Linked DNA regions of Homo sapiens: all the other regions are linked to region 5. The links are contacts of gene promoters, found by promoter capture Hi-C in blood cells and fetal thymus (Javierre and others, 2016). All regions are on one chromosome and are shown on one strand. Each heading gives the region's core, a stretch centred on a gene start or on the middle of the fragment in contact. The rest is flanking DNA. Distances are from core to core; before and after follow the strand shown. Region 1 has its middle 19 kb from the start of MIR3159. Region 2 overlaps HPS5 (HPS5 biogenesis of lysosomal organelles complex 2 subunit 2). Region 3 overlaps SAA2-SAA4 (SAA2-SAA4 readthrough). Region 4 overlaps GTF2H1 (general transcription factor IIH subunit 1). Region 5 holds the start of SPTY2D1 (SPT2 chromatin protein domain containing 1). Region 6 overlaps HPS5 (HPS5 biogenesis of lysosomal organelles complex 2 subunit 2). Region 7 has its middle 6.7 kb from the start of SAA1.

Region 1 (4,093 bases), core at 201-2,700, 270 kb before region 5:
CTGCCTGAGAACTGTTCATTTTATTTTAGGCCATGTTACAAACTGGTTATCCTTCATATAATGACTGCTAAGGTCAGAATCTAAGCCAGGCATGGTAGCACATGCCTGTAGTTCCAGCTACTTGGGAGGCTGAGGTAGGAGGATCACTTGAGCCCAGAAGTTCAAAAGTCCAGACTGAGCAACATAGTGAGACTCCATCTCTTTTTTTACAGAAAAAAAAAGAAAAATTTATGAAGACCTTGAACTGGTAAAGGGAAAGAAGCCACATCATTTTCTGCCTTCAGTCTTCCCATTTCTCTTTCAGATCAGTATATGTACTGGTATAATCCCTTAAAATTTACACTTTCACAAAGTACTTTCAAATGTGTTACTGCTACAGTGGGGCAAATAGAAAAATGATTGAAATAAAAAAAAGTGGCTATTGGGCAAGGCAGACATAAGAAATAGAATGTTCTGTTGAGTGCTGTGTTGAAAATTAAGTTGTAAGCTGGGCATGGTGAGTCATACCTGTAATCCAGCACTTTGGGAGGCCAAGGCAAGAGGATCACTTGAGCTCAGGAATTCAAGACCAGCCTGGGCAACATAGCAAAACCTCATCTCTACTAAAAGTAAAAAAAGTTAGCTGGGCGTGGTGGTATGTGCTTGTAGTTCCAGCTGCTCTGGAGGCCGAGGCGGGAGGATTGCATGAGCCCAGGAGATTGAGGCTGCAATGAGCTATGATCACACCACTGCACTACAGCCTGGACAGTAAGACAAAGCCCTGTCTCAAAAAAAAAAAAAAAAAAAAAAAAAATATATATATATATATATATATATATATATAAAGCCTGAAGGAAAGACTTCATTTAAAAGAGCGTTTTAGCTAAGTCTTGAAGGTTGAGTAGGATTTTGTGAGGTAGAGAAGAAAGTCATCTCTTCTAGACTGAGGGAAGAGCATGATGATGAGAAGGTTTGAAAGACTGAAATATGTTAGAAGAACAGGAAAGATGTGTTAGATTGGAGAGTTGGAAGTGACAAGTAAGGCTCAGAAAACCATGTTAATTCAGGTTGTGAATGGCCTTGTATGCTAAAGTAAAATACTCAGACCTTACCTACTAGGCATGGGAGACTTGAGAGAAAGTTTTAAGCAAGTTGCTTTTATGGGGGGGTTTTCTGGTGGTGGGGGGTTAGGCAGGGGTTAAATAACTTGGCAATTAGGACAGATTTAGAAGACTTTCTGAACAAACCACACAGGAAAGCGTCTACATTAAAATGAAGTCCTGGTAAATAGGAAGGGCCTGAGTAACAGCATTTCTACAGTGTATGTGACTAACTCACAGGGAGTGAAGGAATCAAGGGTGATTCACAGAGATAGCTGTGAATTTCATGTCTAGCTTGCACTTGAAATATTTGAGCCTTGGATACCTTTAGCAATGAACTTCAGCAGCTGTATAGGCCTTTTATGGCCCTTCACCTTCTTGCGGAAAATAATAGCACCACTGATGGTTGAGGGCTGCTGTAAACCAGCATTGTGCCAAACACTTTTTCTGCTGTATCTCCCTTCCCACAACTGAAGAAGCAAGTAGATACTACAAGATTTTGTACAGATTAGAAATGGTTTAGAGGTTAAGTAATTTACCCAAATTCACACAGCTAGTAAGTGTCAGAGCTAGGATTTACCCTAAGGCTTCTCTAGTCTGGAGAAGGGATGAGATGTCTGTGAAGTTGCAAGTTGTTATTCCGCAGCCCAGGCTTCCATTGCCTAGTTTTTCCTTTGACTCCTTTGTCATTCCTGCCTGACTCTATTCTGTGCTTTACTTGTGGCAAATCGCATCATGGGATTAGTCTGCCTAGTAGGCCCTGAGGGCTATAAAATGTAATAATGTAACAACAGCATGTCCTGCCTTAGGAGAATGAGTCTTTTCTGGAAAGAAAGTCAGTAGTGGCCTAGCGCAGTGGCTCACACCTGTAATCCCAGCACTTTGGGAGGCCGAGGCGGGTGGATCACCTGAGGTCAGGAATTCGAGACCAGCCTACCCAACATGGCGAAACCCCATCTCTACTAAAAATACAAAAAATTAGTCAGGCGTGGTGGCAGGCACCTGTAATCCCAACTACTCAAGAGGCTGAGGCAGGAGAATCGCTTGAACCTGGGAAGTGGAGGCTGTGTCGAGCCGAGATCAAGCCACTCTGCTCCAGCCTGGGCAACAAGAGCGAAACTCCATCTCAAAAAAAAAGTCAGTAGTGTTAGTCTGCTTTAGACATACTACAAAGTGGGTGAGGTACCTTGTAAAATCCACTTCAGGATGGAAAACAAAAGAATGTTTTAACATCTGTAACTAGAAAGGTAACCCCACTCATCGAGTCTGAAGAGTTTAATCCAGAAAGTGATTTCCTGTTGCATATACCATCTTTCTAGAGCTGACAGTGTCTGGAATGGAAAGCTGTGTGTTTCAAACTTAGGTTTGCTGTCTCCAGTGTCAAGACTTGCATGGGATTCCTTAGGATTACCTCTGCCCTTTCCCAATTTAGCTCCCTCAAGACTCAGCTGTTCTCCCAGTTCTTGAGGCCAGGGGAGTCTTAGTTATTTTCAGCTATTAAAATGTCCAGAACTGGAGTATTGCCTGGAACCTGGTTCAGGAGTGACCAGCCTGAGTTAGTAGTCCATCTCCTTGTTTGGGTGTATATTAAAGTCACAGAAGAGACTGGAAATCTTGTCATCTCGTGGCCACTACTGACTTTCTTTCCATCCTGGGTGGAGTTACATATGTGTGTGTGTGTGTGTGTGCATGCTATATATATGTGTGTGTGTGCAATACATATAGTGAAAACATAATTCGTGGGGTTTTTTTTTCCCTGAGTTTTGAATAGTGCTGAAGTATATAAAATAGAAAGTGTCTCTGTACCCTTACTTCCAAGTCTTTCCTGAGGTGATGGTCAGTGCATCTTCTTCTGGACATTTGTCTATGCCCTTAAATTCTTTTCTAACCTGCAACCTGAGATTTTTCTAACAAAGAGATACCTGTGCACCTGAACATGCCCTTTAAGATAATCCTTTTAGTTAGGCATGGTGGAATGCACCTGTAGTCAGGAGGTAGGCAGGAGAATCACTTGGGCCCAGGAGTTTGAGGTTGCAGTGAGCTATGATCATGCCACTGCACTCCAGCCTGGATGACAGCTAGACCCTGCCTCTTAATTTTTTTTTTTTTAATTTTTAAAAGTTAGAAAATGACCGGGCATGGTGGCTCACACCTGTGATCCCAGCACTTTGGGAGGCCAAGGTGGATGGATCCCTTGAGCCCAGGAGTTCAAAACCAGGCTGGGCAACATGGTGAAACCCCCTTTATACAAAAAAAAAAAAAAAAAAAAAAAAAATTAGCCTGGCATGGTGGCATGTGCCTGTGGTCCCAGCCACTCAGGAGACAGGAGATTGAGATGGGAAGATAGCTTGAGCCTGGGGGGTTCAGGCCGCAATGAGCTGTGTTCACGGCACTGCACTCCAGCCTGGGCAACAGAGCAAGACCCCGTCTCTAAATAAATGAATAAAAAGATAATCCTTAACAAAGGGGCTCATATCCTTAGAGAAGAATCCATTAGTGATCCTATTTCTGCCAAATTCTTGTAAATTTTGGTCCTACCCATTTGTATCTGTTTCTGACACATGGTTATTCTTTTCCTTTTTCTTTTGTCTTTTTTTTTTTTTTTGAGGTGGAGTCTTGCTCTGTCACCCAGGATGGAATGCAGTGGCACCATCTCGGCTCACTGCAACCTCTGCTTCCTGGGTTCAAGTGATTCTCGTGCTTCAGCCTCCCAAGTAGCTGGGATTACAGGCACCCGCCACCATGCCCGGCTAATTTTTGTATTTTTAGTGGAGACGGGGTTTTGCCATGTTGGCCAGGCTGGTCTTGAACTTCTGACCTCCTTCTGATCCGCCTGCTTCAGCCTCCCAAAGTGCTGGGATTACAGGCATGAGCCATCATGCCCGGCCACCTGGTTATTCTTGAGAACAGGTTATATACCTGTGCTGAATACACATCTTCAAGACTTCACATATATCAACCATATCCTTACTGCCCTTGAACATTTAGACCTACAGAATAAGGAATGGAGAGTA
Region 2 (3,884 bases), core at 11-2,510, 330 kb before region 5:
AGAAAAAAGAAATAAGTCTAATATAGAACATAAAACTTCAATGGTGCTTTAAAAAGGCTTAGCAAGCTGGAGAAAGATTTAATGAGAATTTTCTTAGGAATTAAGAATTTAAGGCCATGTGTGGTGGCTGATACCTGTAATCCCACACTTTGGGAGGCCAAAGTGGGCGGATCACTTGAGGTCAGGAGTTCGAGATCAGCCTGGCCAACACGGTGAAACCCCGTCTCTACTAAAAATACAAAAAAAATCAGCTAGGTGTGGTGGCGAGCGCCTGTAGTCGCAGCTACTCAGGAGGCTGAGACACGCGAATTGCTTGAACCCAGGAGGCAGAGGTTGCAGTGGGCCGAGATTGCGCCACTGCACTCCAGCCTGGGTGACAGAGCGAGACTGTCTCAAAATAATAATAATAATAATTTAATTAAAATTTACCATATACGCAATTATCCCCCTTAAAAACAAGTTCTGAAACAAATTTGTATGTAAATTTGATGTTTTAAATGAAAATTGTACCCTCTTTCTTACCCTCTATCCACCCCTAGATATATCTATCATGCTTTCTCTGGGCATGTATTGCTGTATCTGTAGGTCACACAGACAGGGTTAATAAAATCAAGCAACTTTGTAACACAATCTTGCAAGGTAGGAGAGTTTCACCAATCCATGGTAAAGATGTCTAGGTAAGCTCTGACTCACTCTGCTGGCAATGACAGAATTTTGGAAAAGACAGCATGTACGAGCAGCCAAGTTCCATAGGCCTCTTCTTAGCAGGCGTTCCACACAGCGCTCCACAGATATCAGGGAGAGATGTGAGACTTTCCCATTTAGGTGCAAACAGAACAATTCATTCCTACAGACAGCCACATCCTGAATATCTACGAAAACCACAGGTGTGAACATACAAAATGTTAACCAAATACCCCTTACAATTTTAAAAGGGATGCAATTATTCTAATAAATTCATTTCTTACGTAGGGTTTGGCTTGACTGAATTTCATCTCTATTTTTCTACTTGCAGTTCAATGAAGAAATCATATTTTAGAAACTATTCTAAAAAGATCAAGAATAAAAGATGTGAAGAAAGAACTATATCTCTCTGACCTAAAGTCTTATGTTTAAAAATGCTGTTTTCTGTGAAAAGGAATTGGGACATTAAAAGAGGATAATCTACATTAGAGGCCAGACTATAAGGTTCGAGTGTTACAACCTGGTCCTCAATGAATGGATTTTAACATAGTATGTAAATCAATATACAGTTCATGAGAAAATATCTGCCTTCAAGAAAATATCTGTCTTGGCAGAGTATCCTGAAAGGACTTAAAAGACTACTTTTCAAGGGACATACTTAAGAAATTTAAGCCACAAGAAAGTCACTGTTGATGAGACCAGTAAGTAATGATTTCTTTCTCTCTCTCCTTTTTTGGTTTTTACAAACATAGAAAAAGAACCAAAAAGTCAACATAACACTCTCTACTGAGCAGCAATGGTAAAAAAGCTAGATTTCCCCCACTTCTGGTTTTAACCCAAAGAATATAGAGATTGATTTTCTGTCTCAGTCACATATGATGGCTGTTGCTCCCACAAGAACAATTTGAACCCCAAACTATAAAGATACAAAATGGGAGTCAAAGTAAGACTTCTGGCAGGGATAAAGACTCAGGGCAATAGAGGGAAAAATAACCTGTTTGTTCCTTTTCAGCAGTTACTAATGAAAACTGCACTTAAAATTACTCATGAAAACTGGAAGACACTATGTTAAGTGAAATAAGCTAGGAACAGAAAGTTAAAGACCACATGTTCTCATTTATATGCAGAAGCTAGAAAAATGTGATCTCACAGAAGTAAAAAAGCAGAACAGAGGTGACTAGATTCTGGGAAGGGTAAGAGGAAGGAGAAGACAGGGAAAAGACTTGTTAAAGGATACAAAATTATAGCTAGATAGGAGGAATAAATTCTACTGTTCCATAGCATTGTAGGATGACTATAGTTAATAATAATGTCTGTTTTCAAAGAGCTAGAAGGACAATGAATGTTCCCAACATGAAGAGCTAATAAATGTTTAACATGGTAGATATGCTAACCACCCTGATCTGATCAGGGTACACTATACACTGCATGTATCGAAACATATTATGGGGTACATATTTATGTACCCCATAAATATGTACAATTATTATGTGTCAATTAAAAAATAAATAAAATGACTCATGAAAAAATAAATAGCTGAATGCAAATTCACTAATGCATGTTTGGGAAGTAACTTACAATGGGAAATATCTATGGTCAATCTTTAAAAGAAACGTAACTGGGCACGGTGGCTCACACCTGTAATCATACATGTTTGTAATCCCAGAACTTTGGGAGGCTGAGGCCGGCAGATCACCTGAGGTCAGGAATTCGAGACCAGCCTGGCCAACATGGCGAAACTCCATCTCTACTAAAAATACAAAAATTAGCCAGGTGTGGTGGTGCGTGCCTGTAATCCCAGCTACTCAGGAGGCTGAGGCAGGAGAATCACTTGAACCCAGGAGGTGGAGGTTTCCGTGAGCCAAGATCGCACCAGTGCACTCCAGCCTGGGTGACAGAGCAAGACTTAGTCTCAAAAAAAAAAAAAAAAAAAAAAAAGTCATCCCATCCTATTTTTCAACTTCTTAAATTACAAGAGAATGCTCCTACAATAATCAAATTTTCATAAGCATGAGATTAAAAATTACAAAGAAAAATATAATTACCTTTGACTTCACTCCAAAGAAGAACTTGAACATTCTGAGGAATGAAAATATAAATTCCTCTTTCTGTCCAAGTCAGCACACAATGCTCACTGCAAGAGAAGAAGTGAAGAGAATTCAAGTGTGCTAGGATACAAAAGTTTATAATTCCCCGAATTCAGATCCTTGCATTAGCTATTAAAGTAAAATCAAACTGTACAAAGAAAACACAAGAGTGATCCAGCTAATCGAGTCCTAACAACTCCTTTCTGTCTGTAACAACAGCCCACTAATAAATAGCATAAAATGATGCCAAATTGGGAAAATTCAGACACATATACTAGATATTTTCCAGAAAAAGAAAAGGGTCAGCTGGGTGCAGTGGCTCACGCCTGTAGTCCCAGCACTTTGGGAGGCCAAGGTGGGTGGATCACTTGAGGTCAGGAGTTTGAGACTAGCCAGACCAACATGGTGAAACCCTGTCTCTATTAAAAATAGAAAAATTAGCCGGGCATGGTGACATGCGCTTGTAATCCCAGCTACTCGGGAGGCTGAGGCAGGAGAATCACTTACAGGGAGGCGGAGGTTGCAGTGAGCCAAGATTGTGCCACTGCACTCCAGCCTGGGTGACAGCCTGGGTGACTCTGTCTCAAAAAAAAAAAAAAAAAAAAAAAGAAAGAAAGAAAAGGCTGGTATCTGGAAAAAGAAAAGCTTAGGGACCTTTACCTGATGTTCGTTAAAGCAGCTGAACTTTCCATACTGGACATGATACGGGCACATTTAAAACAAAGACTAACATCTTACTGCCAATCATTACTCTAGTGAGACACTTTTAAGAACAGTAATATTTTGATGTTGTTAGTTGTGTGTGCGCAACAAAAAGCTGACAACTCCTGCTCAACGATGTGCCAGGAGCTTTATTAAAGGCTCTGTCTATATTACCTAACTTTGTAGAAGCCAGTCAAGGTAGATATACTATTCTTATTAAAAAGAGAAAAAGCTAAGGCTCAGAGAAATAAAATAATATACCAAAGGCCATTCAGCATGAAATGTATACGAGTCAGAATTTATACTGGATATGCAGGATAGTCTGGCTCCAAAACCTGGACTTTTTTCCTATATAACACAGAATCTACTTCCTCCTCCACTTATCTTCACTAACCTACTCACTATTATCTG
Region 3 (4,261 bases), core at 588-3,087, 390 kb before region 5:
AAAAAATATATACACAAGCAGGACTAAACTAAACTAAAAACTTCTGCACAACAAAAGAAATAGCCAACAGAGTAAACAGACAACCTAAGAACGGGAGAAAATATTTGCAAACTACTCATCTGACAAAGGACAAGTACCAAGATTCTACAAGGAACTCAGACAACAAGAAAAAAGGAAATAACCCCATTAAAAAGCGGGCAAAGGACATGAACAGGTATTTTTCAAAAGAAAACATACAAATGGCCAACAAAATATGAACAAATGCTCAACATCACTAATCATCAGAGTCACAAATTTAAACACAAATTTAATCACAAATTAAAACCACAATGAGATACCATCTCACACAATCAGAATGGCTATTACTAAAATGTCAAAAAAACAACAGATGTTGGTGAGGATGTGGAGAAAAGGGAATGCTTATACACTGCTCATGGGAATGTCAATTAGTACAGCCTCTGTGGAAAGCAGTATGGAGATTTCCCAGAGAACTAAAAATAGAGCTACCATTTGACCCAGCAGTCCCATTACTGGGTACTACCCAAAGGAAAATAGATCATTATATAAAAAATATACCTGAATGCATGTATTTATCACAACACTATTATTCACAGTAGCAAAAATATGGGATTAACCTAAGTGTCTTAGGTTAATCAACGAATGATTGGAGGGGTGTGTGTGTATGTCTGTATACACATATATACACCATAGAATACTATTCAGCCATTAAAAAGAATGAAATCGTATCTTTTGCTGCAACATAGATAGAACTAGAGGCCATTATCTTAAGTGAAATAACCCAGAAAGTCAAATATCACATTTTCGCACTTATAAATGGGAGCTAAATAATGTGTACACATGGACATAGAAAGTGGAATAATGGACACTGGAGACTCAGAAAGATGGAGGGCAGAAGGGGGCCGAGGATTGAGAAATTACCTGACAGGTACAATGAACTCTACTTGGGTGATGGTTACACTAAGAACCCAGATTTCACCATTATGCAATCTATCAGTGTAACAAATCTGTACTTGTACCCCCTAAATCTATAAATAAATAAATGAATGAATATTTTAAATAACAATAATAAATGCTGAATGAACACATGGAAGCACATTTCTGAACGTTTGAAATAATTCCTAATTCAATGACATGTTTAAAAATAACAAGCAGCTCAATTTGCATGTAGCATGAGGCACATTAATTAGTCATAGGAGATAAGACTGAAAAGCTTGGATACCCTATTAGTCAGGGTTCTTGAGAGACACAGGACAAATAATTTATTTGTGTATGTATGTATGTATTTATTTATTGTAAGGAATTGGCTCACAAGATAATTGGGGCTGAGAAGTCCCACGATCTGCCCTCTGCAAGCTAGAAACTCAGGAAAGTGTAATTCAGTCTGAGTTCAAAGGCCTGAGAACCAGAGCAACTGATCACGTAAATCCAATTTGAGGGCAAGAGAAGATGAGAGGAGATGTCCAACTCAAGCAGTGAGGCAGGGGAAAAGGGAGGCAAATCTGTCCTTCCTCTATTTTTGTTCTATTCAAGCCTTCAACAGATTGGGTGATGCCCAGTTGCATTGAGAATAGCAATCTACTTTATTAAGTCCAATTCAAATGTTAATCTCCTCTGGAAACACCCTCACAGACGACCCCAGAAACAATGTGAATCTGGGCAGCCTCAAACCGACACAAAAATAAATATAACAGTAGGCTGGGCTCAGTGACTCATGCCTGTAATCCCAGCACTTTGGGAGGCTGAGGCAGGCAGATCACTTGAGCCCAGGAGTTCAAGACCAGCCTGGGTGACACGGCGAAACCCCATCTCTACAAAAAATATAAAAATTAGGCAAGTGTCATGGCGCACATCTGCAGTCCCAGTTATTCAAGAGGCTGAAGTGGGAGGATCTCTTGAGCCCCGGGAGGTCGAGGTTGCAGTGAGCCATGATCATGCCATGGCACTTCAGCCTGGATGAAAGAGGGAGATGCTGTCTCAAATAACGAAACAAAACAAAACACAACTATAACAAAGAGCAATGCAATTTCCCTTTCTCAAACTTTTCTAACAGAGAGAAGCATGTTAATTCTTACTGAGGAAAACCAAGTAATTAATAAAAGGTATTTGGGTGTGCCAGAGCATAGGTATTAGGTGTGACTTTACAAATTATAAATTCCTGGGTAAACCAAGCACCTTTTTCCTTGGATACAAATTTCGATTTAAAAATTTTTTTCTTGTTTTTTTTATACTTTTTCTTCCTCTGAACCTATGGACTATATTGAATTAAATTTTTTTTCAAATTATAGATTTCAAGAAGGGGAGTGATTTGGTCCTTTACAGACGGATGAATGAATTTCTGTATCCAAATGTTGCTTCAGTTAATTATTTCTAGTAATAATATGTTGATTGCAAAGTTTTGAATATCTACAAAGACTAGACTTTGAAAGCTTGCTTTATTTGACTTTGAAAGCCATTCTTTCTCTCATCCTCCCTTTCTCTCCCTCCTGCCCCCCAAAATCTACAACTTCAGTACTTGTGACAGAAATCTAATTGTAAGCATTTACAATTGCTATTGTAATAATAGCATTACAGTCTTTTTTTACAACTTGGGGTCAACTCAGACTTTACTAGACTGAACACTAATCTCAACAGTGCATTGAGTCTGCTCCCATGAGCCAATCTTCCACGCCTCTCTCCATCTTATTTATCTTGCCCTTGCCTTGTTTTGGCATTGGCACATCTTTGAGACTCAGACTCAAACCTCCTATACCTCCTATACCTACACTTCTATTAGTGTCTTTTGATGAGAACTGTATGAGAAAGTTCTGTTGTAAATAGTTCTACTTTATATCCATACATTTTCTTCCTCCTTGACAAATAAATTTGTCTTTACTCTGTAAATATAATTTTATAACTAGTCTTCTCACCTTAGGAGTCCTCCTCAATCCTTTTTCAGAGAAAAGGGGTATGCCAGTTATCAGTTTCTTTATTTTCAGCTCCACACCCACCCCTTTGTCCTATTTGTGATGCTGGAGCTGGACCCTGTGAACATTTCTCCTTTGCCAGTTGGGCATGATGTTAATCTTCACCCATAGAGGGCGCTAGAGGGCCAAGCAGGAGATGAAGACATCTTTTCCTGTTCTTTTGTGCTTTGCTTCCTTTCAGCTCCTGCAGTACTCTTCTCCTGTACAGGACAACCAGTGGCACTTGCCCCAGAGATCTGAGTGGCATCCCAAGGCCAAGACAGTTTCCTGACAATTTCTGTGGCACCTCAGTAGGATGTCCATGATGTTTACCAGCAGCCCACTTATTTTAATCAGCTTGGGCTGCTGTAACAAAATAGTACAGCCATGCTGTGAGTTGGGGTTTCAACATATACATTTTGGCAAGATACAGTTCACTCCAGAGCACTGCCACTTCCACAGCTGGCTTCCCAGGGGTTTTGATAACCTATCTCCTGCCCCCAAGCAGTTTCCCAAATTTGTCACAGGAACCCTAGCTGCATTCCCAGAGTTAAGTTACACCCTGGGTAGCTTCCTGCCAAGTTTCATTAATACCTCAATGGAGTTCTTATATGTCAGTTTTGGCTTGAAGGACCCAGTAAACTATTTGCCATCCAATGTCAGTCTTGTGAGGGGCCCAATCTCAAATTTATACCTTCTCATATTCTGTACTCTTAGAAGTTAATGCTGCTCTCAGTTAATAATTCTTTATATTAAAATTTCCCTTTTCAAATTACTGCCTGGTTTCTGTCTCCCAAAGGGACCCTGACTGATAAAACAGTTCTTCTCTATCTGGCTCTCTCTCCACTGCCACCACTTCCACAACTTTGATCTAGTTAAGCTCCAGAAACTCAGAAAACATTCATAAAAGGAGTCGCATTACATATTTAGACTTGAAAGAAGGCAATGAAAATAGAGTGGAAGAGAACTGCATTGGAGGTATTTTTTAGATGGAGTGGGTAGAAATTCATTAATGCCTGGATTTGTAGGTGTTGCTGAGAAATGAAAGGAAGACTCGGGTGGCAGTCGCTGAGGCAGGACTTCACAATTCAATTGTCTGTAGCCCCTGCCTCCAGAAACAGAGATCACTGAGGAATGAAGAACTGAGGGACAGAGAAGGTAACAGGAAATAATTCACAGGAGATGAGAAGCCTGGGCAAGGAAGGGACTGGAAATAGCAACAATGTAACCACAAAGGTCTGGAAAAAAGGAGGTCTAATTTGTGGAAGGGTTGATGCAGGTGTCTGCACTGTGACTAC
Region 4 (4,205 bases), core at 1,474-3,973, 290 kb before region 5:
TCACCCAGACTGGAGTGCAGTGGCACAGTGATAGCTCCCTGCAGCCTCAAACTCCTGGGCTTAAGCGATCCTCCTGCTTCAGCCTCTCAAGTAGCTGGGACTAGAGGTGTGCACCACCTTGCCTGGCTAAATTTTCTTATTTTTATAGGGCGGGGGGCAGCTCTTTTTGTATTTCCCAGGCTGGTCTCAAATCCCTGGCCTCAAGAGTTCCTCCCATCTTAGCCTCCCAAAGCTCTGGGATTACAAGTATGAGCTATCACACTCAGCCCTCTTCCAAAATGTTTTTAAAATACATATAATTTTTTTTAAATTTATATTTCTTTTTACCAGTTATGTTTTCTTGGCCTTTGGACTTGACCCTAGCATGCTGGTAGTCAAATGGAATTTGAAAATGACTCTTTCAGAGTTTGGACTAATACTTACTTTTTCAAATATTTTCAAATGTAGGGCTTTCTGCTGCCTTTTTAAACCTTTGCCATATTTTACTTACAATACAAGGTTAAATGTATCATGACCATATTATAGAAAATGTAAGATTTGTAAACTATATTAGAACAATTGGGAATACCTTATCTGTGGAATTATGGAATGGAATTCAGTCAGTTGGTATTCTAGTGGAACCAGAATAGTATTAACACATTCAACAAAATTTTGAATACTATTTGTATGTTTGGTATCTTTTTTGGATGTTTATTAGTGAAGTGAATTAATAAGGCCTTTCCCAAAGAAGTCAGTCAGTTAATGTTAATTTAATTATTTACTAACCAAGGTTTGTAGTGATTTTTATGACTATACAAGTTTTATCTTAAAGCTCCACTGCCTCTCTGCCTTCATACTTAAACATGCCTATTTGACCATATTAGACTTCCAAAGGAGCAGATTTTATAGGTCACTTAAGACCGTGAGAAACCAGTCAGGCTTTTTTGAGTCCTGCCTCTGTGCAAAAAGTGAAGGTGAGGGACTTTCTCTGTCTATGCAGTTAGTTCAGAAATTTTTTTTTCCACCTTTGTCCAGTGTCCACTGGGACCTGAGCCATCTTTCCCTGATGCTCTAACGTGTATGTGTGTATGGGCTTTGTTTTAGGCTGATGTCCGGCCCCAAACTGATGGCTGTAACGGTCTAAGATATAATTTAACTTCTGATATCATTGAGTCCATATTTAGGACCTATCCAGCAGGTAAGAAGAATCAGTTCTTTCAGATGGTTAAAATATATGGATATATTCTATAGTATATCAGTGAAAAACAAAAAGCTTCAGATTCCTGATCAAGTGCAATAAATTATGTAAAGTACTTTTTACCCAGTGCCTGACATATGGTAGATACTAGGGGCTCAGTAAATAATGTGTTGTCATCAGTTCACTAATATGACTGCCATTCGAGTCTGTCTGTACTACTAACTCAGATCATTCTTCATTCTGCATCCAGAGTGACCTTCCTAACCCACAAATTACTTCCCGTGCAGATGCCATCCTAAAAGTATAGATTCCTTGACCCCAGCCTCAGTGATTTATTATGTGTAGACAAGGATGAGAGCCAGTGTGTCAGTCATTCTTCTGACTAAGCAGTACTCTCTTAAGCTGTATTCTGTTCTCGCTTCCCTCTTCCCCACTCTTACCCCTTTAGTCCCTTAGGAATCTCTCTCTCAGGACTCAGCTCAAGCATCACCTCCTTGCCACCTCTATGAAATCCTGGCCAGTCCCAGTGGCTCACGCCTGTAATCCCAACACTTCAGGAGGCTGAGGCAAGAGGATCCCTTGAAGCAAGGGGTTCAAGACTAGCCTGGGCAACAAAACAAGACCCTATCTCTTTTTTTTTTTTTAATTGAGACAGAGTCTTGCTCTGTCAACCAGGCTGGAGTGCAGTGGCGCGATCTTGGCTCACTGCAACCTCCGCCTCCCAGGCTCAAGTGATTCTACTGCCTCCGCCTCCCAAGTAGCTGGGACTACAGGCACGTGCCACCACGCCAAGCTACTTTTTGTATTTTTTGTAGAGATGGGGTTTCACCCTGTTGGCCAGGCTGGTCTTGAATTCCTGACCTCAAGTGATCTGCCCGCCTCAGCCTCCCAAAGTGCTGAGATTACAGGCTTGAGCCACAGCATCTGGCTCTTTTGTATCTTTCTGATGGTAACATAATTGTGTAGTGTTTATTATGTGCCAGACGCTTTTCTAAGTTCTTTTTCTATAGTAACTGATTTAATCATCACGTAAACCTATGAAGTAGAGGTACTGTTATGACCCTCATTTTACAGATGAGGAAACCAGGGTGCAGAAAGATTAAGTAATTTGCTCAGGGTCACACAGATAGAAAGTGGCAGACCTGGAATTTTAAACTCAGAGCTCAGCAAACAATGCTGTTGAACTCTATGCTTGCTAGTGTGTAAGCCGCTGGAGTGCTGAGCTGACAGTCCAGTGGATATTGAGATCATTATTACCCCACAAGCTAACACAGTGCCTTGGATTGAGAGTGCACATATATAAATGAGCAAACAAGCAGACTCAGCTCTGACTCCTGAGATTCTTGGTATTTCTACTAAAACTTCAAAACCTTATTCTTTTGGTGCAAATAAGGTTTTGTTTGTAATTTGTAAGATTTATAGAGGTCATACCTCACCTAATCTCTCAAGTTACCCTTCATATTTATAATTAGATTATAACTTATAGTATGTAGAGTTGAGAGCTTTATGGTCTAGATTTTGCTATTTGTATTTCAGTTACCTAATTTGAGAGGTTTTAAAAATGGAAATTCAGTATATAATATTTGTGGGTTTTTTTCCACAGTAAAAATGAAATATGCAGAAAATGTTCCCCACAACATGACAGAGAAGGAATTCTGGACACGTTTTTTCCAGTCCCATTATTTTCACAGGGATCGGCTGAATACAGGGTCAAAGGATCTCTTTGCAGAATGTGCCAAAATAGATGAAAAAGGTAACTGTTTATCTCTGATAGACACTGGTATTTAACTTGCCACCCTCTAGACATTATAAGTGTTAATTTCTGAGACAGATAAGACATGCTGAACTTTTTATTTTGTTGATTTTCTAGGCCTAAAAACAATGGTTTCATTAGGAGTGAAAAACCCACTACTAGATTTAACAGCTTTGGAAGATAAACCATTAGATGAGGTAAGAAGCAATAAAAGAAGTTTTGAGAGAAAAGAGTCTTTTCCTAGTCTTCAACATTGTCTTAAGCGTAGTAGACCTATTCCACTTGTGAGAATGTCAAATAAGCAAAATACTGTTACTTGAAGTGATTTATCGGAAGTGCTTTGAAATAGCGTTGTTTGCCATTAAAATTGCCTAGAAGAAATGAAATTCCTGTGTGAGTTGCTAAAACCTTTTAAAAATAAATTTCTAGCTCCCTCATCCGCAGTTCTCTAGTAATAATAAAGGCTTAATGTGATGAGTTCAGCTTTATGCTCTAGCTAACATTTAATCTAAAGAAATATGGATAAATTAATAAATAAGGAAGATAACAAACATTTGTTGATTGCTTACTATCTGCCAAACCTTAAGCACTCTCATGACCCTTATACCATGCCAACCCCAATGTTTCAGCAAGTAGGCCATCATGTATGACCTACCTACCTCAGCATCATGACCCCAGACCTACAGATTTATCTACTTGCAGAGAAAGAGATGGTTCCTGTTGTGATCAAGGATAATTTTATCACTGCCTCTGTCTTCTAGGCCAGAACTTGTCTTCCTCAGTTATTCCCTTTACTCTGAGTTTTCATTTTCTTGCTCTTATTTTTCTTCTTTTTCTGTCTCTTTTTTTTTTTTTTTTTTTTTTTTTTTGAGAAAGAGTTTCACTCTGTTGCCCAGGCTGGAGTGCAGTGGCGCAATCTTGGCTCACTGCAACCTCTGCCTCCCAAGTTAAAGCCATTCTCCTGCCTCAGCCTCCCAAGTAGCTGGAATTACAGGCACGTGCCACCACACCCAGTTAATTTTTGTATTTTTAGTAGAGACAGGGTTTTGCCACGTTGGCCAGGCTGGTCTCAAACTCCTTACCTCAGGTGATCTGCCCACCTTGGCCTCCCAAAGTGCTGGGATTACAGTCATGAGCCACCACGCCCAGCCAGTGTATTTTCAATTTATACTTTGATCATACAGTGAGTTTTTCAGGACATCACCCTTTCAGAAGTGAAGAAGAATCTATACAAACATGGCCCTCTTTAATTATCCTGAGAAAATAAAGCTTAGT
Region 5 (4,160 bases), core at 1,512-4,011:
TATTTCTTTTAAAATAGATAACAAAAAAAAAAAAAAAACCACCAAACACTTTATTTCTTTTAAAATAGATGGCAAAAAAAGAAAAAAAGCTTTATTTCTTTTAAAATAGATGGAATAAATATGGGGAAATGTTAATATGCTAAATACGGGGTTTGGGTATATTAGAAATGTGTTAACATTCCTTATGTTTGAAAGTGTCCAAATTACTTTAAGCTGATAAGGAAAAAGTAAATAGAACAGTTAGATGAATCAAGTTAAAGCAAATCAAGTAAAGCATGAAATTTGGCCGGGTGTGGTGGCTCACACCTGTAATTTCAGCACTTTGGGAAGCCGAGGTGGGCGAATGACTTGAGGAAGGAGTTCAAGACCAGCCTGGCCAACATGGTGAAACCCTGTCTCTACCAAAAATACAAAAGTTAGCTTGATGTGGTGACAGGTGCCTGTAGTCCCAGTTACTCAAGAGGCTGAGACAGGAGAATTGCTTGAACTCAGCAGGTGGAGGCTGCAGTGAGCCGAGACCATGCCACTGCACTCCAGCCTCCAGCCCGGACGACAGAGTGAGACTCTATCTTAAAAAAAAAAAAAAAGAAGAAGAAGAAATTTAACTACAGTCTTATCCTATTCCTCAATAGTTTCTTTTGTGACTTTAATTCCACATAAAAAGATAAGAATTATAATGCTGGTAACTAAATCAAACTTCTAGGCTTACTAGCTTTGGCGGGGAGAGGTCAGAGAATGCATGATTCATAAAATATATGGCTATATTATCTATTGATTTTTTTTTTTTTGAAATGAAGTTTTTCTCTTGTTGCCCAGGCTGGAGTGCAATCGCACGATCTCAGCTCACTGCAATCTCCGCCTCCTGGGTTCAAGCAATTCTGTCTCAGCCTCCCAAGTAGCTGGGATTACAGGCGCACACCACCATGCCCGGCTAATTTTTGTATTTTTAGTAGAGATGGGGTTTCATCATATTTGTCAGGCTGGTCTCAAACTCCTGACTTCAGGTGATTCTCCCGCCTAGGCCTCCCAAAGTGCTGGGATTACAGGCCTGAGCCATTGCGCCCATCTATTAAATTTTAAATTACTTTTTTCCCCTTTTTGATTCTTCTGTTATTCCAATCATAGATAATGCATATATTATGACATATACACATATTTTGAAATTTTCTGCTTTAGGATTATCTGTCTGCTTTTCTCCCAGCAGCTACTGGCTTTCAGAATAAGAAATGACTTAGTTCTGATTCTTCCACAGAACAGTACTGGGCATCAAAGCTAGTACTATCTTTGACCTTTACTGAAATTCAATAAGATCTAGAATGAAATACAGACCAAATTATGCAAAGATGAATGGTTACTAGACCCAATATTGATTCATCTGGAAAATTTACAGATGCTTCTAGAAAGTAAATCTGTTGATCTGGGTTTCAAAGGTTTGAGTCTATACCTTCAACATGCAAAGCTTATGACTCACGGCTTAGAGGAATGGTTATTCAGAGTTCTTGGGATAAGGGATGGCTGTGTGTGTGTATATATACATATATTTATAAACATAAATATAGACCTTTTTCAGATCAATATTTTCAAAGGGATAAAAGAATGAACTAGCCTCAGAAGACAAAAAAAAGCTGCAGAAGAGAAAAAAACGAATATTGCAATATACGAATATCTAGGAAATGCAGAGCACTTCGTCGGAGCTCAATAAATTCTAGCTGAATTGACTTTGAGAGCCGTTTTAGTTCTATACCTCACTGCTCAAACCGCAGGCATCACCATGCAACTTATCGGTTTACAGCTGTGCTGTGGGTACCATCTGAAAATCTGGAAATGATTAGCTTATGCAAAACAGCCATAACCCCCAGAAACCAGGCGCTCTCCACCACTTTACCATTTAAGTCTTACACCGCTCTTGCGACTGTAAGCGAACTGACAAACATCTACTGACCAAATGGGACCTAGATTTTAAACAAAGACTGAAATCTGGAAGGCTACAAGTAAACAGAAGCTGAAACTAGCTCACCTATTCTGTTGGCCAAGGATTTCGTGGAATCTGCTAAACTTCTCTTCCCAAAAGATGATACCTATCCCCTGGGAGGTGATAATTTAATCACCTCGGTGGCTGAGTGGGTGGGGCCGAGTCAGAGAATTCTTTCAAGAAATCGCTAAACGTTTGACTTGAAGATCGATGAGAAGCCAGCCAAAAAGCTATCAAGCCAAGGACCCCAAACCCCCTAACTCCCTTACATACATATTTCCTTCCCAATCTCTAGGCTGAAGTTTATGTGGAAGCCAAAAACTACCAGCGCTAGAATCCACAGCGTGCCAGGCACAGCTCACTCACGGCTTTCACGCAATTCTAGCTACAACACCCAAACCGCAAAGTCCCTGTTGCAGGGGTAAATAAGCCGGCGAAACCCATTCACAGGAAGGCTCCCGCGTCTCGTCCCAAGCTCTTTTCTCCCGAGTTCCCAAGAGTATAAACCCAAGAAAAGGAAATAAGGCGTCCGGGTCTTTCCTCTCCCGGAGCCGATAGGCGGCTGCCCAGAAGTTCCATGGGCCACACACATTCCGAACTTGGAAGACTAGGGTCCCCTACATTGATGCCCCAGCTGCTACTTACCGGCACATTGTTGACACCTTGTCCCTTGGAAGCTATCATGAGAATTTCTCTGAAGTCCATGTTGGGCCGAGGCGGGAGAGACTGGGCCAGGCACTCGGAAAGGACTGACAGCGCACCTAACCGAGGCGCCCAGCTACAGCCAACTGCACTGCCTCGGGAGCCCCACTCCCACCCCGCCTCTGCGGGACCACTTCCGGCGCCTTCCTATGCCGTCTGCCCGCCCCCTTCCCTCCACGGCCTATATCCTTTCAGGGCCGCCACAGCGCTCGCGAGTCCCTGCGTAACTTCCGCTTTTAGGCCGAGACACGTACAAACGTGATACGTGGCTGCTGGCGTCGACCCGAGGGGCAGGGACTAGGCATTTTAGCAACCAAGGGGGTGTGGCTAAGCGAGAGAGCGGCTTCCCTGGTGGCCCGGGCGCGCGGTCTTGTCATCTTGTTGCTCCTTGTGAGCGCTGGGTAGAGAAAGTGAGGGGGTAGAGGGTTTACTTGCCAGGCCTGGGTTCTCTGGGTGTCACGGGTAGGCGCTTAGATCCAAAACGGCGGCGCCACAACAGCTGAACAGACGGATCTCGAGCCGGGGTTTGGGCTACTTGTGTCTAGGCGCTCGCGAAGCTGCGCAGGCGCACACAGCAGCGCCGTGGTCCTGTCTTGGATGCCCATTACTCATCAAATTCGGCCACATGCCGTGCGCTTACCTCCTACTCAGATGCACGCGTGCCGGGGATGGGGGCACGCGCTTACTTCTTTTGCCCCGTTTAGAAAGTAAGTTTTATGTGGAGCAGCCAACCTGTGTTTTTGCTCAGGCAATGGATTAAGGAATTTCACATACAGACCCAGCCTTGACATAACTTTGGTGTACTGATGAACATATGCTTCATATTCATATTCATTGGGATCCTAGTCCTGACTTCTTTTGGAGAGTTATCTTGGATCTGTAAGGTCATTTCGACTTAGCAAAAACACTGAAAATAATTAGGCAAACCTGGGTCTGCAAGTGGGAACCCGCCAGGGGATTGATAGCAAACAGGTACTCGGGATCTTTTCGGTGGGATGGAAATGCCTCCAAACTGGATTGTGGGGATGGTTGCACTATACATGTACTAAAAATCGTACACTTAAGACGGGTGAGAATGATACAGTATGTAAATATGTCAAGCTGTTAAAACATGCTAGACAGGCCGAGCGCGGTGGCTCACGCCTGTAATCCCAGCACTTTGGGAGGCCGAGGCGGGCGGATCACGAGGTCAGGAGATCGAGACCATCCCGGCTAAAACGGTGAAACCCCGTCTCTACTAAAAATACAAAAAATTAGCCGGGCGTAGTGGCGGGCGCCTGTAGTCCCAGCTACTTGGGAGGCTGAGGCAGGAGAATGGCGTGAACCCGGGAGGCGGAGCTTGCAGTGAGCCGAGATCCCGCCACTGCACTCCAGCCTGGGCGACAGAGCGAGACTCCGTCTCAAAAAAAAAAAACAAAAAACATGCTAGACAAAGCTGCTGGCTCTTACTCTTTGATGGTTTAATGCTGCGAACGTAATTCAAAAT
Region 6 (3,961 bases), core at 1,462-3,961, 350 kb before region 5:
CGTTCAGAAGGTTCAGGAGCATGATTTAGTTTTTCTCAAAATGTCATGACATCCTGCTGAATCTTCTCCCACTAGGCCTGCTGGGACCAGAGAAACCGATCGCATTTTTCAAGCATGCTTTGTATCAAGGCCCTGAAATCCCAAAGAAAAGAAACAAGCAAATTTAGTTGTCATTGTTCATTCTTCACAGAAAACTTAAAAACTACAGAGTTTCAGAGGATTCAAAAAGTTGACTGATTCTGTGCATTAAAAGACACAATGCACAGAGTGAAAAGGCAACCTACAGAATGGAAGAAAATATTTGCAAATCATGTATCTGATAAGAGGTTAATATCCAGAATATCAGAGAACTCTTACAGCAACAACAACGAAAACACCCAACCTGATTCAACATGGGCAAAGGACTTGAATAGCTATTTCTCCAAAGACAATTATATAAATGGTCAATAAGCATATGAAAAAATGCTCAACATCTCTAATCATTAGAAAAATGCAAATCAAAACCACAATGAGATATATAGTACCTGACACCCACTGGGATAGCTACTGTTTAACAAAAAACAACAACAGAAAATGACAAGTGTGGGGCTAGCACATGGAGAAATTGGAACTCTTGTGCACTGCTGGCAGGAAAGTAAAATGGTGCAGTCTCTACAGAACAGTATGGTGGTTCCTCAAAAAATTAAAAATAGAATTACCATATGATTCCAGAATTCCACTTTCAGGTATATACCCGAAAGAACTGAAAGCAGTGTCTGGAAGACATATTTGTATACTCATATTCATAGCAGCGTTATTCACAATAGCCAGAAAGTGGAAGCAATTCAAGTGTCTGTCAACAGATGAATGGATAAACAAAAGGTGGCATATATATACAACGGAATATTATTCAGCCTTAAGTAGAAAGGAAATCCTGACACATGCTACAACATGGATAAACCTTTAGGATGCTATGCTCAGTGAAAACAGGCTGGTCACAAAACGACAAATGTATTAATTCCACTGAGATGAGGTATGTAGAATAGTAAAATTAATAAAAACAGAAAGTAGAACTGTGGTTGCCAGGGGCTAGGTAGAGGAAGTAAGTTGCTGTTTAATGGGTGTGGAGTTTCAGTTTTGCAAAATGAAAAAGTTCTAGAGACTGGATGCAAAACAATATGAATAACTTAATACCACTGAGCTGAATATTTTTAAATTGTTAAGATGATAAATTTTATGTGTATTATACCACAAAAAAAAATTACTGAGACATTAGGTATCTGGTACCAGTAATTTTTTTTTTTTTTTTCAGAGTTTTGCTCTTGTTGCCCAGGGTGGAGTGCAATGGCGTGATCTTGGCTCACTGCAATCTCTGCCTGCTGAGTTCAAGCGATTCTCCTGCCTCAGCTTCCCGAGTAGCTGGGAATTACAAGTGTCTGCCACCATGTCCAGTTAATTTTTTTGCATTTTTTTTTTTTTTTTTTAGTAGAGACAGGGTTTCACCATATTGGTTAGGCTGGTCTCGAACTCCTGACCTCAGGTTATCCACCTGCCTCAGCCTCCCCAAGTACTGGGATTACAGGCATAAGCCACCGTACCCAGCCAGGTACCAGTAATTTTTTTGTTTTTGAGATGGAGTCTCGCTCTGTCACCAGGCTAGAGTACAGTGTCATGTTCTTGGCTCACTGCAACCTCCACCTTCCGAGTTCAAGCGATTCTCCTGCCTCAGCCTCCCAAGTAGCTGGGACTACAGGCACGTGCCACCACACCCAGCTAATTTTTGTACTTTTTTTTTTTAGTAGAGATGGGGTTTCACCATGTTGCCAGGATGGTCTCAATCTCTTGACCTCATGATCCGCCCACCTCGGCCTCACAAAGTGCAAGGATTACAGGCGTGAACCACCACGACCAGCCTGGTACCAGTAATATTTTTAAAGAATCAAGGACACATCAGATTATTCAGGTTAATCTGAACAGCATCTTGGTCATGGCTGTGAATGAAATATTACTTTAGCCTCTTCCCTTAATTACCACATCAGTCTCAGTCTCCTCATGTTAGTGATGGGTCGGGACTAAATGATCTCCACATCTACATCTGAAAGTCTGTGGCCTTCTACCTTCTCCAAGCACTATGCAGAGGGTAGGACAAACTGATATTACCTCTGCCTTTTCTCAGCAATCCTCAGGATATCGCAGGTTCTGGTAAACTTCTCTGACAACTCAAGGGCCAGACCACATTCCTGTAGCAGTGACCAAGCCCGATCTGGGCCCATGGCCTTAGCTAACAGAAGTGCCACATTCTCCACATTGATGGGGGAAGGCCCATCACTGAGGCTCCCATTTAGTGACTCCTGGGGGGCTGGCCTCGTGCTCTTGCTCTGTATGAGATGAAGGAGAAGCTTCCATTCCTCCACGGTCTCTGGGATCCAACCTAAACACACACAGGGAAGTGTCAGTTTGACCACTCTTAGCACACTGACTGGATACAGGAGATGGTCAAAACTGTGAAAATGTTTAATGCCAAAACGTAAAAATATTCAAGAACACAATCTCATCACCCTAACACAAGTTGTTTTCTGAAAATTTGTTGTATAAATTGTTCATGAGAAAGAGAAGCCACAAAATTAACTTTAATTTTTTTCTTTTTTTTTTTTAAAGAGAGACAGGGTCTCACTACCATGTTGCCCAGGCTGGTCTTAAACTCCTGAGCTCAAGCAAGCCTCCCACCGCAGCCTCCCAAAGTGCTGGGATTACAGGCATGAGCTACCACACCTGGGCAGCTTCAGAATTCTTTCAACCACTCAGTAATTACCCAGGGCATATCCTATGCTAAGCACTGGATATGTAATGATGAACAGAAGAGACACAATCCCTGTACTCTTGTGGAGCCTACAGTCTAGTATAGGAGACAAAACTTAAACACGTAAGTATATACTTATAAAGTATGCTAAGCACTATGAAAAAAAAGAACAAGGAAGCATCAGAGAGAATGGCTGATTCTGCCTGGAAGATCTGAGAAGGGCTCTATGAGGAAGTGACATTGAAGCAGAAAGCTAAAAGATGAGACAAGCTTAGAGGACATATGCATGGGGCCCACATAATGTGAAAACTTGGAGTAGGAGCCATCAGAAATAAGGGGCCTGCATTTCTGATAAAGGAAACATGGAAGACAATGTGACACAGGAAAGAACTTGACGAATTCAAGGAATTTTTCTTTTCCTTTTTGTTTTGAGACCAAGTCTTGCTCTGTTGCCCAAGCTGGAGTGCAGTGGTGCGATCTCAGCTCACTGCAACCTCCACCTCCCAGGTTCAAGCAATTCTCCTGCCTCAGCCTCTCAAGTAGCTGGGATTACAAGCATAAGCCACCATGCCCAGTTAATTTTTGTATTTTTAGTAGAGATGGGGTTTCACCATGTTGGCCAGGCTGGTCTCAAACTCCCGACCTCAGGTGATCTGCCCACCTCGGCCTCTGAAAGTGCTGGAATTACAAGCGTGAGCCACCGCGCCTGGCCAGAATCATCTTTAATTAATGGGAAATTAAAAAAAAAAAAAAAAAAGAGCCTAAGCACAAATTTTGGAGGAAGTCCTTGGTCTGAACCCCAGCTCCAGCATTTACAATTAGTAGCTGTGTGACTTTGGGCCAATTAACTGTCCCTTCTGTACCTCAGTTATCTGGAAAGTGGAAATAATAGTAACTATCCCCAGAGTTTGTTATCTCATTTAAAACAACATATGGAAAGCACACAGTATAGTGCCTAACACATAGTAGGCACTCATGAAATAGAAAAGTTGCCTATAGTTTATTCTTAATTGTGATTTCATAACATATCAAGGGCTATAGGTAAAAAACAAAAACAAAAACAAAAACTCCACAAATGTGACAACTAAGTGGAATCACATATTAAATATATGATCATTGAAAGGTTCACCAAATTTTTTTGTTGAGAGGTCTGGAGTAACTTCTAAAAATTGACAACCAAGA
Region 7 (4,002 bases), core at 1,221-3,720, 370 kb before region 5:
CTTTTTTTTTTTTTTTTTTTCAGACGGAGTTTCACTGTTGTTGCCTAGGCTGGAGTGCAATGGCGTGACCTCAGCTCACTACAACCTCCACCTCCCAGGTTCAAGCGATTTTCCTGCCTCAGCCTCCCAAGTAGCTGGGATTACAGGGACCTGCCACAACGCCAAGCTAATGTTTTGTATTTTTAGTAGAGATGGGGTTCACCATGTTGGCCAGGCTTGTCTGGAACTCCTGACCTCAGGTGATCCACCCGCCTATAATTTATTACTCCCTTTTGCAAATGTTTGAAAAGGAATAAAGTGCAATATTTTTAAACAGAATGCAGAGTTCTGTTGTCCTTTGGCAATACCAGTTTCAGACTCTGAGAGTGGCTCTTGCTGTTGCCGACAGTGGGCTGATGACCAAATCCCAACATGCCCCCGCTGCGAGTCCTTCATAACCTGATTCAGTCATCACTTAGAGGCCAGCAGGCTTCAGGGAGGCGTGAGCCTCAGCCAACAACCTATAGGGGAAGAGACGCAGAACTCAATGCAGACAGGTTTGGATTCTGGTGCCTAGAGAATGCAACTTGGAAACTCTGAGCCAGGAGAAAAGGGTTCTCTCTCCATGAGAGAGTGTGGGCTTTGTGAGAAGCGACACACAGCAAACACAATTAAGAGTCCACCCCTCAGCGGGGCGCAGGGGCTCACGCCTGTAATCCCAGCACTTTGGGAGGCCGAGGCGGGTGGATCACGAGGTCAGGAGATCAAGACCATCCTGGCTAACACAGTGAAACCCTGTCTCTACTAAAAATACAAAAAAATTAGCCGGGCGTGGTGGCGGGCGCCTGTGGTCCCAGCTACTCGGGAGGCTGAGGCAGGAGAATGGTGTGAACCCGGGAGGTGGAGCTTGCAGTGAGCCGAGATCGCGCCACTGCACTCCAGCCTGGGCGACAGAGCGAGACTCCATCTCAAAAAAAAAAAGAAAAAGAAAAAGAAAAAGAGTCCGCCCCTGAATTAAATAGTTGGTCCTTTTGTGTTCCTGGTGATTCACTTGCTAAGTGGAAGAAACAGGAGGGAATCTTTTCTCCTGCCCTCCTGGTAATCCATAGCCCATGGCCTGGCTTTACTTCTGTAAAGTGGCAGGAGACCTTTTGACAGCTGAGCCATTTCTTATTTTATTTATTTTAATAAGAGATGGTAGGAATGAGCAATGATATTAGTACCTGGGGACTGTTGTTCTTAAGGAGAAACAATCTTAGAATGATTAGTGATACCCCTTGCTTTCTCTTTTCTTTCATTATACTTTTTGTACACATATTTTTCCCATTTATTTATTGGAATCTTACTGATTTATTATAAGTATAAGCTTTATGTCTACACATGTATAATCATTTTTCCCCAAGTATAAGTCTCTTTTTCATGGAGGCACAGCCTAGACCTGGTTAGCCGCCATCTCCCCTCATTGTATGCCCAATATCTATTGTAGTATCTGCTGCATAGAAGGCACTCGATGCGTGAATGGATAATGACTGATGATGAATCAATAAATAAATGGACATGTCATTGTAAAAAATTCTAAAAATCTAGAATAACACAAGCTGTTGGCACTACCTAGAAACACAGATGTAAAACTTCCTAGGTTGTGTTTCACCATGGGAACATGTCTTTGAACAAAAATGGGATCATATTCTATTGCACTCTTTCCCTTAAGAGATACTTCTCCAGGTCATTAAGTGCTCTTCCACAATATCAGTATATGGCAGAGGCAAGGTCATACCAGGTCTGTCTGAAACCAGGGCTTGGCTCTTAACTTGCAGCCATACTGCCTCCAAGTCTAGGTGGCTGGGTTTTAGGATCTGTAATGGGAACTCAGTGTCACAACCTCTACTGGGAAGGTATTCTGGTGTTGCATAACAGGACTTTCTGTTAGAGATAACCATGGCAAAATGGAATAGAGACAAAGTTCAGGTTTCTGCTGCCAGGAGCTGAGATTGCTGTGACCAATGGCATTCTCCCAAACCAAATAATCCAACCTGGAATTACCATAAACCACTCCTCATCTTTTCAAGGGGTGTCCAAGTTCCCAGAAAAGAACATTTGTTAAGGGATGGAGGCAAGGAGGTGGAGAAGAAAGAGCACTGGCCAAGGTATCATGAGTGTCCTGGGTTCTGGTCCTTGAATAAGCCATTTATCTTCTCTGCAGCTTCTCCATCTGATAGGAGTTTGGAGGCAGAGTTTTTTCTTAATGAGCAAAAGACAGTCGTGCCTAGGAGATGTGGTGTACATGTTAGAAAGAAGGGACTGGCTGTGACTCTATAAAAGATGAATTCATACAAAAACAAATTACCCTTTCCCAGGGAGAAAGTTTGGATCCAGTAATTAGAGATCTCAAAAAGTAGAAGACCTGCCCTGTGAGGCCTGTGGCCTCCAAGTTTGAATGCTGTGTGTCAGCTTTAAAAACTAGTTTCTTGCTGATAAATGTTTCATATTAAGCATGTGTTGAGAGTACTCCTTGCCTACCTTCACTAGCCACTGTTTCCTTCCCCTCCTCCCTTGTCCCTTCATTCTCTCCAGAACTTTCTGCTAACTTCCATTCTCTTCAGGACTTCAGCATGGTTGGGAGAAGATCAGAAAGGCATCCTCACTGTTTTTATTTTAGTCCACTTGACCTTTGGGGAGTAGTTCCACTGGCTCATAAGTATCAGCCCCCCATAGCACAGCACCCCACACTGAGCCCGGAAGCAATAAAGAATCCCAATCTGCTGTCACTAACCAGCACGCTCAACTGCCATGCCCTTTACTCTTCTCATCTCCCTGCTTTCACGTCACACCAACTAATTTCTCTATGAGTCAGCCTCAACTCTCCCAACACTCTGCCCACCCTTCTTCTACTACCTTCCAGTGAGCTCCTCGAAAGAAGGGTCTGCGGTGAGGATGCCCCTTTATCTCTGCCTATTTCCTTCCCATTACAAAAACTTGAAACCTGCCTTTCCCATGTTGATTTCACTTTATTCTCATCTTTACCCATGGGGTATGCCTCCTGCAATTCCTCCTAGACAATAGAATGAGAAAGAGGGGTCCTCGTCCTCTTTGCTTTCCATGACCATTTCTCCATTCTTCACCTCTGTGATGTGTCCTCTTTGAAGTCCCTGATAAATTCATTACCACCTTCTCTCCAGTCTTACTAATGTTATCTGCACAAGTGATTTCCAAACAGGAAGATTTTCAAACACTGATTCCTGAAGATCACCCCCAACTCGCTGAACTGAGACCAAGACCTCCAAGATTATGGCTTAGGAATCTGCATTTTTTTTTTTTTTTTGAGACAAGAGTCTCGCTCTGTTGCCAGGCTAGAGTGCAATGGTGGAATCATAGCTCATTGTAACCTCAAACTCCTGGGCTCAAGTGATCTTCCTGCCTCAGCCTCCCAAGTAGTGAGGACAACAGGAGTGTGCCACCATGCCCAGCTAATTGTTAATTTTTTGTAGAAATGGAGTCTCACTATGTTGCTCGGGCTGGTCTCAAACTCCTGACCTTAACCCATCCTCCGCCTCCGCCCCCAAAAGTGTTGGGATTACAGGTGTGAGCCACCGTGCCCAGCCTAGAAATACCCACTAGAAGCTTCTGTGTAGACAATCTGCTTAGTGATGTTTGGAGACAAAGTACCTCTTTATTGTATTCATTGACAAAACTCTCCAGTCCTCTCCCATCTTCATGGAAAATTTTCACAGTTCATTTACGGCCCTCTTTCCAACACATTCACTGCCAATACTCTTATTGACAATAACTGTATTGTTGAACCTTCCAGTATCCTGCATTCCCGGATCAAGGCCCCCTCAAAGCCCTGATATGCAAATATCTGGGAAAAGAATGTTCCAGAGGAAAGGAACAGCTAATCCGAGGCCCCTAGGGTAAGATGTGCCTGGGGGTTTGGAGACCAGTGTGGCCAGAGCAAAATGAGCAGGAGGAGAGAATTGGATGATGAGGTACGAGAGGAAGGAGTTAGGACAGTTTGAGTAAAGT

What was found. Contacts are between HindIII fragments. The CHiCAGO score rates a contact against its expected background, and 5 or more counts as called.
Region 1: a contact is called between a fragment that was not itself captured here and the fragment with the promoter of SPTY2D1 in region 5, in 1 of 17 cell types (neutrophils). The highest score is 5.5, in neutrophils.
Region 2: a fragment that was not itself captured here is called in contact with the fragment with the promoter of SPTY2D1 in region 5 in 1 of 17 cell types (neutrophils); the score reaches 7.0 in neutrophils.
Region 3: a contact is called between a fragment that was not itself captured here and the fragment with the promoter of SPTY2D1 in region 5, in 5 of 17 cell types (total B cells, endothelial precursors, monocytes and 2 more). The highest score is 7.0, in total B cells.
Region 4: a fragment that was not itself captured here is called in contact with the fragment with the promoter of SPTY2D1 in region 5 in 2 of 17 cell types (neutrophils and naive CD8 T cells); the score reaches 8.1 in neutrophils.
Region 6: a fragment that was not itself captured here is called in contact with the fragment with the promoter of SPTY2D1 in region 5 in 4 of 17 cell types (total B cells, erythroblasts, naive B cells and 1 more); the score reaches 7.2 in total B cells.
Region 7: a fragment that was not itself captured here is called in contact with the fragment with the promoter of SPTY2D1 in region 5 in 1 of 17 cell types (naive B cells); the score reaches 5.1 in naive B cells.

The regions. Positions count from the first base shown.
Region 1 is chr11:18,367,089-18,371,181 of GRCh38, forward strand. No RefSeq gene overlaps it. Among named protein-coding and RNA genes, the nearest start is that of MIR3159, 19 kb to the right of the region's middle. The HindIII fragment of the contact is 9,719 bases long and covers 1-4,093 here.
Region 2 is chr11:18,298,099-18,301,982 of GRCh38, forward strand. It overlaps HPS5 (HPS5 biogenesis of lysosomal organelles complex 2 subunit 2), which reads right to left. Exons shown (of 23, transcript NM_181507.2): 9 at 2,730-2,818; 10 at 694-872. Among named protein-coding and RNA genes, the nearest start is that of HPS5, 22 kb to the right of the region's middle. The HindIII fragment of the contact is 4,308 bases long and covers 1-3,414 here.
Region 3 is chr11:18,240,850-18,245,110 of GRCh38, forward strand. All of the region lies in intron 3 of SAA2-SAA4 (SAA2-SAA4 readthrough), which reads right to left. It also overlaps a transcript of SAA2 not described here. Among named protein-coding and RNA genes, the nearest start is that of SAA2, 5.7 kb to the right of the region's middle. RefSeq lists enhancers at 2,933-3,227, 3,358-3,407 and a silencer at 2,953-3,247. The HindIII fragment of the contact is 1,216 bases long and covers 1,230-2,445 here.
Region 4 is chr11:18,338,481-18,342,685 of GRCh38, forward strand. GTF2H1 (general transcription factor IIH subunit 1) reads left to right here. Exons shown (of 15, transcript NM_005316.4): 5 at 1,084-1,177; 6 at 2,781-2,930; 7 at 3,048-3,127. Among named protein-coding and RNA genes, the nearest start is that of GTF2H1, 18 kb to the left of the region's middle. The HindIII fragment of the contact is 2,947 bases long and covers 1,251-4,197 here.
Region 5 is chr11:18,631,581-18,635,740 of GRCh38, forward strand. SPTY2D1 (SPT2 chromatin protein domain containing 1) reads right to left here and starts at 2,762. Exons shown (of 6, transcript NM_194285.3): 1 at 2,618-2,762. The coding sequence starts at 2,677. LOC105376578 (a long non-coding RNA gene) reads left to right here and starts at 2,769. Exons shown (of 2, transcript XR_931097.3): 1 at 2,769-3,381. RefSeq lists a silencer at 1,747-1,926 and an enhancer at 2,983-3,252. The HindIII fragment of the contact is 3,460 bases long and covers 1,458-4,160 here.
Region 6 is chr11:18,279,811-18,283,771 of GRCh38, forward strand. It overlaps HPS5 (HPS5 biogenesis of lysosomal organelles complex 2 subunit 2), which reads right to left. Exons shown (of 23, transcript NM_181507.2): 22 at 2,140-2,410; 23 at 1-132. The coding sequence ends at 72. Among named protein-coding and RNA genes, the nearest start is that of SAA1, 16 kb to the left of the region's middle. RefSeq lists enhancers at 2,783-2,842, 2,883-2,942. The HindIII fragment of the contact is 671 bases long and covers 2,377-3,047 here.
Region 7 is chr11:18,257,560-18,261,561 of GRCh38, forward strand. No RefSeq gene overlaps it. Among named protein-coding and RNA genes, the nearest start is that of SAA1, 6.7 kb to the right of the region's middle. The HindIII fragment of the contact is 2,255 bases long and covers 1,344-3,598 here.